2 separate regions of the Homo sapiens genome follow, and region 1 is linked to region 2. Evidence: promoter capture Hi-C in human tissues and cell types (Jung and others, 2019). All regions are on one chromosome and are shown on one strand. The core of a region is centred on a gene start or on the middle of the fragment in contact, and the rest is flanking DNA. Distances in the headings are between cores, read along the strand shown.

Evidence for each region. Contacts are between HindIII fragments. The study calls those that stand out against the background at their distance.
Region 1: a fragment that was not itself captured here is called in contact with the fragment with the promoter of RIPPLY1 in region 2 in 1 of the 25 tissues and cell types used here (adrenal gland).

What each region holds. Positions count from the first base shown.
Region 1 is chrX:106,950,489-106,953,547 of GRCh38, forward strand. All of the region lies in intron 14 of MORC4 (MORC family CW-type zinc finger 4), which reads right to left. Among named protein-coding and RNA genes, the nearest start is that of CLDN2, 32 kb to the left of the region's middle. The HindIII fragment of the contact is 4,923 bases long and covers 1-3,059 here.
Region 2 is chrX:106,901,899-106,904,605 of GRCh38, forward strand. RIPPLY1 (ripply transcriptional repressor 1) reads right to left here and starts at 1,443. Exons shown (of 4, transcript NM_138382.3): 1 at 1,235-1,443; 2 at 242-317. The coding sequence starts at 1,389. It also overlaps a transcript of CLDN2 not described here. The HindIII fragment of the contact is 3,191 bases long and covers 239-2,707 here.

The DNA of each region.
Region 1 (3,059 bases), core at 467-2,966, 49 kb after region 2:
TCCCTTCTTTATGAATGGGTACTGGGGTAATTTTTGGCTTACTTCTTCCAGCATAGACTTCTGACCTATGAGCAAGCTCGGGTAGGAACAATAGGGGCATGGTATTACTAACTTGCTGTTCCTTTGTGAGTGCTCCCACCCTATAAGTGAGGGCTTTGTTGGGGAAGAGAAGGCTGGGAGAAGAGAGACCCAGTCTTCGTGGATCTGCCTGGAATAGAGCTTCTACAAAACAGAACTGGAGAGGAGATGAGAAAAGCCAGAGGCCTGCTCCTCCCAGGTAAAACCATAGCTCTAGACAATGAGCTAGGGGATGAGGGAGCCCCCATCTTCTAGACCACACCCACATGGATTAGAATTCCTTTGAGTAGTTTTCATAAAATAGAGCTTGGAGTGGGACAGCTTGTGGTTCAAATGCCACTGACTCTTGCTGTTCTTCCTGAGATTTAGAAGATTTCTTGAATATTTCTCCCTTTGCTGTGTGCCCCTAGGACACTATCCAGAAACACTGATTTTTTTTAAATATATTTTTTCAAGTTAAACAGTTATTTATTGGTGACAGAGTCCACTATGCTCCTCATTTCTCCATTCTGGAAGTTGCTTCCCTAGATCATATTTTTAAATGTTAATACTGGCCCCTGAATCAATCTTATTCATTTGCAAAATTGTTCATCTATTTCTACCCCTTGTTTGTTATTTCAAGTATTCCTTTAGACACAGTAGAATGTCTCTACTTCTCTCCCTCCACTGTTAACAGTGCAATTCAGAATTTGTTAACCTTTAAAAATATGAACTAATTAGCCTTTGACATATAGCTTACTCAAATCTAAATATCTAAATAAATTACAGCCACTAATTCTTGCCTTCATTCAAATGCTTACGGTTACTTTAGATCTTTCTTTTTTTTTGAGACAGGGTCTTGCTCTGTTGCCCAGACTAGAGCACAGTTGCGCAATCACAGCTGGCTCACTGCAGCCTATGCTCAAGCGATCCTCCCACCTCAGCCTCCAGAGTAGCTGGGACCACAGGCGCACGTCACCACACCTGGCTAATTTTTTATTATTTGTAGAGAAGAGGTCTCACTGTGTTGCCCAGGCTAGTCTCGAACTCCTGGGCTCAAGCAACCCTCCTGTCTCAGCCTCCCAAGTGCTGGTATAAGAGGCGTGAGGTACTGCACCCGGCCACTTTAAATCTTATTTTGTATCACTCATAAGAGAACTATACATATTTAGCCAGGCGCAGTGGCTCACACCTGTAATCCCAGCACTTTGGGAGGCCAAGGCGGGTGGATCACGAGGTCAGGAGTTTGAAACCAGCCTGACCAACATGGTGAAACCCTGTCTCTACTAAAAATACAAAAATTAGCCGGGCGTGGTGGCACGCGCCTGTAATCCCAGCTACTCAGGAGGCTGAGGCAGGATAATCGCTTGAACTCGGGAGGTGGAGGTTGCAGTGAGCCGAGATTGCGCCACTGCACTCCAGCCTGGGTGACAGAGCGAGACTCTGCCGCAAAAAAAAAAAAAAAAAAAAAAAAAAAAAAGGAAAGAAAACTATATGCACTTTATATGTAAATATTGGGGATACTTACATATCAAATTTTGACTACTCAAACCTCCTTCATCTTTGATCTTGTCACTACCCTAGAACAGGGCCTTTCATAAAGTAGGCACTCAAATACAGTCGTGCATTACTTAATGATGGGCATACGCTCTGAGAAATCCATTGTTAGACAATTTCCTCATCGTGCAAACATCATAGAGTATCCTTACACAAACCCAGATGGTATAGCCTACTATACACCTAGGCAATAGCCTATTGCTCCTAGGCTATAAACCTGTACAGCATGTGACTGTAGTGAATACTATAGGCAACTGTAACAAAATGGTAAGTATTTGCATATCAAATATATCTAAATATACAAAAGGTACAGTAAAAATACAGTATTGTAAGTTTATGGGATAACTGTTGTGTATGTGTTCTGTTATTGACCAAGATGTCATTATGCGGCACGATTATACATGTAGGATGAACAAATAGAAAGGGATTATTTCCTTTAACAGAAATAAGCTGTCTTCCCCAAAAAGGTTATACCTGCTTACATACTGGTGGAACCTATTCTTTATTGCAGGTCCTCTCCTCCCCTTGCTAGATTTGTGGGACTCACAAAGCTGTTTCCAGTGACACCTGTGGCGCCCCTGCTAAACTACCCACTAGAACTTAAAAGTTTTCTTGGATACTGTAGGCTTTATTTTATCTGGAGTTAGTAAGCTGAACTACATGACCCAAGGACCCTTATCAGCTTCCTATGCTGATAATAACAGAAGACCTTTGTAACTCTTGATTAAACCTTAATGTTTTATCAGAAATCCTATATATTTTACTAGACTCTTGAGTAACTCCATTTTCCCCCATTAAAAGGTAGTCTCAGCCCAATCAATGTGATTCCCTCGAAAAGTGTAACTTGAAATGACACAATCATCATTTACTGATCTTATGTAACATATATGACATTAGCAACAGCAACTATCACATACCTCTTATGTTTCTCTTTCTCTTGAAATAATTTTATTCTCAATAAATTAAAATTACATATGAATGGTCAATGTACTTTACCTGTCCTCTACAGCCAAAACCTCACTCTCGATATAGCAATCCATAAAGACTCATACAAAAATTCCAATAGAGACTGATGAAGTATGCCACCCAATGGAAGTTCTATTGTACTGCATTCATAAAATAAGTATATAAATTAGCATTTGTAATCCCCTTGAGGTTACCAAAAACCACTACAGGGTTATAAAAGAAACACTGGAAAAAAAGGAAAAGTGGTCATAGTAAGGAAGGGACAGTCTTCAAAAGCAAAGACACCTGACACTCCAGCAGCAATGGTGATATATGAGCATCTCCAGGAGACCAGGGTAAAAAGGTAACAATGTGCTTCAAAAACACTTAGCATTTACAGTGCACCCCTCCCAACCTAAAATGGGAGTTGGAAAAGTATGCATGGAAACGGTGTAATTAGGCTCAAGCTCCTGAGACTAAGGCTGGATTCTATTTCTTAT
Region 2 (2,707 bases), core at 193-2,692:
CACTGGCTGTGGGGCCTGCCCAGATCCCTTGCCCACTCTGAGCTTTGGTCTCCTCATCTTTCCAATTGCCACAGAAAGCTTGGATCTGCTCTCTGTTGGAATCAAATGTTGGCAAAACTGTGAGGATGCTATCTCAGATCTGCACCTTTGGACTGAGGTCAGGGGCTCTCTGGGAAGTGACCTGGTCACTGTTAATGCATGTGGCTGCATGTGAACACACGTCACAAGGGCTCGAACTCACCAAATCCACCAGCTTCCTCATCTGCCTTGGGGAGTCATTTGTGGAAGACAGCCAGGGCCTCCAGAGACAAGTTCCTCTGGGACAAAGAGGAGAGATCAATCCGTAGAGGAAGAGACTGAAAGGTGGGCTCCCTGAGATAACAAGAGACCTCCCAAAAGCTTGGCTCAGGTGCCATCTGCTCCAGGAAGCCTTTCCTAAGGCTCCTGAGCCCATTCCAGGACAGATGTCCCTCCTCTCGGCTTCAGCAATGTTATTATTGCTTTTATCATGCTGTTTTGTAATTGTCTATTTACTTGTCTTTGGGCTTCTTAAGCTCAAAGATATGCTCAATCGTATCTGAATCCTCAACACCTAGTACAATGTCTGGTACACAGTAGCTGTTTCAGTAAATGTTTGTTGAAGACTAAATGTTTGGAGTAATGAGTGGGGGCTAGATGGAAAATATCTTGCCTCCTACTTCCTGCTCCAAGATGTAGAACTCAGAGCTCTACCATCTTCCTGGGCTGAAGAAGAGGGCCAGAAATGTTCCTGGGTCCACTGCTTCCCCACTGGACTTGCAGAGGTAGGAAAAAAGCAAATGGAAATCTTATGGCGTGGTCAGGAAAAAGACAATGTCCCAGTCAAGGGCCTCTTTAGACTTTGGTCCTCTTTCCCCAAACTCCCCACCCCCACAGTCTAGATTGTGTTAAGCCCAGGTTTCATGGCAGTTCCCCATCCCCCTCAGGGGACTCAGCCACCTGGCCTATGAGGACCTGGCTGCTTCACCTTCAGCTTTGGCAACAGCTGTCCCCAAGTCCCCTCTTGCCACCCAGCGGGATTAGTGAGGTGAAAAGTCAGATGAGATATTCCAGCTAGAGTTGAGGAGGGAGGGCTATGAGGCCATTGCTTTTCCCCTTCACAGAGAACAGGGTGCCCTGGACATCTCATTTTCCTTCCTCTCTCAGGAAGCTCTCAAGCCTAAGTTCAGGTTGCCAAAGGCTAAGCTCAACTTACCTTTCACTCCCATTTACTTCTTGTCCAGAGGAGAGAAGGCAAGATGGGCTTAACAGGCCAGGGAGTGCCAGTGGGGCTTGTGCTAGGTCTGGAGCTAGGGCCAAAGCCAGGGCTGGAACAGGGGTGGCAGCAGCAGCACAGGCAGCAGAGTCCATTCTTAGGGGACCAAAGCCAGTGGGGTCTCCTACTTCCCAGAACCTTCTGCACTCTTTTGGCTTTTCCTGGGAGACCCTTTTATAAGCCCTGCCTGGTCTTATAAATTATTCAGGGAGGACAGGGGTGGGATGACTTGGGAGGGGGATAAAGATTTAGGGAAGGGGCTCAGGGAGGGAAAGCTGGGTTACCTGGGTGTGAAATCTCTCCCAGTTGAATAAACATGGTGTCAGTGGGAGGTGAGGGATTTGCTTTGCCTCCAAGTCAGAAAGAAAAACACAGAAGGGGCAAATCGCACACCATTTGTGTGAATTCCCCAGGGAGTAGCAAGGCCTGAGAGGGGAAGGAGAGGAGCTCATTAGCACTCTGAAACCACAGAGATGTCAGGGACAGAGGGCTGAATAGACAGGCCTTTAACTAAGCCAGTTCCTGGCAAGAAGAGACAGCTGACCCCTTTAAGGAGAGTGAGGGACTCACTTGTTATTTCAGCTCAACCTCAGATAGATTTGCCAGGTGGACCTGAATGTAGGGTGACTGCCATTAAGCATATCATCTGGGTTAGGGAAAAAAGGGGCATTCTGGGCAGAGCAGGCCCAGATGCTTGTTGGGTAAACCTTAAGTCTTCTTTCAATGCCCCTCAGCCCCTTACTGATCAGTTCATTTGTCAAAGTGCCCCCTCCAGCCTCAGCAGTAAGTGGTCCAGTGAAGGAGAGCAGGCAGGATTTCACAGGGCCTCTGGGTGAGATTCCAAACCTCAGAGCTTAGCTTCCAGTTCAGAAGCCAGGGTGCTGGGGAGAGGCAAAGTTCTGCCCGACTACAGAGCTGCCGAAGGACCAGCCCCAGCCCCAGGCCTCAGTTCCCTCATGTAAGAGATGAGGGTGCTGGCCCAGTGGTCTCATAGGACCATGCCAGCCTGAACACTCTCTGACAGGGGCTACATAAATGGGTACTGAACCCGGGCAAGCCCAGAGGCCTGAGCACAGTCCTCGGCCTTAGCCAGCCTTCTGGGCCTTTGCCAGAAAGCTTCTAGTTACAACTACTGGCAGGGACCTTATGCTTCAGAGGTCTCGAAAATATTCCTCCTGACCTCAGTGTCCAGCCCCAGCACAGATTTAGCTTCTTGGATGTTCATCACAGTCTGGTTTGTAATGGTCAAAAATTAGAAACAACTTCAATGTCCAATAATAGGAAACCAGTTACATTAATTAGGGCAAATCCTTGCAACTGAATGCCAAGCAGGTGCTCACAATCATGTTCTGGGAAGTATAATTTTTCAACACAGAAAATGGAAAAAAAAATCAGATGGTAAGATAGCATGAC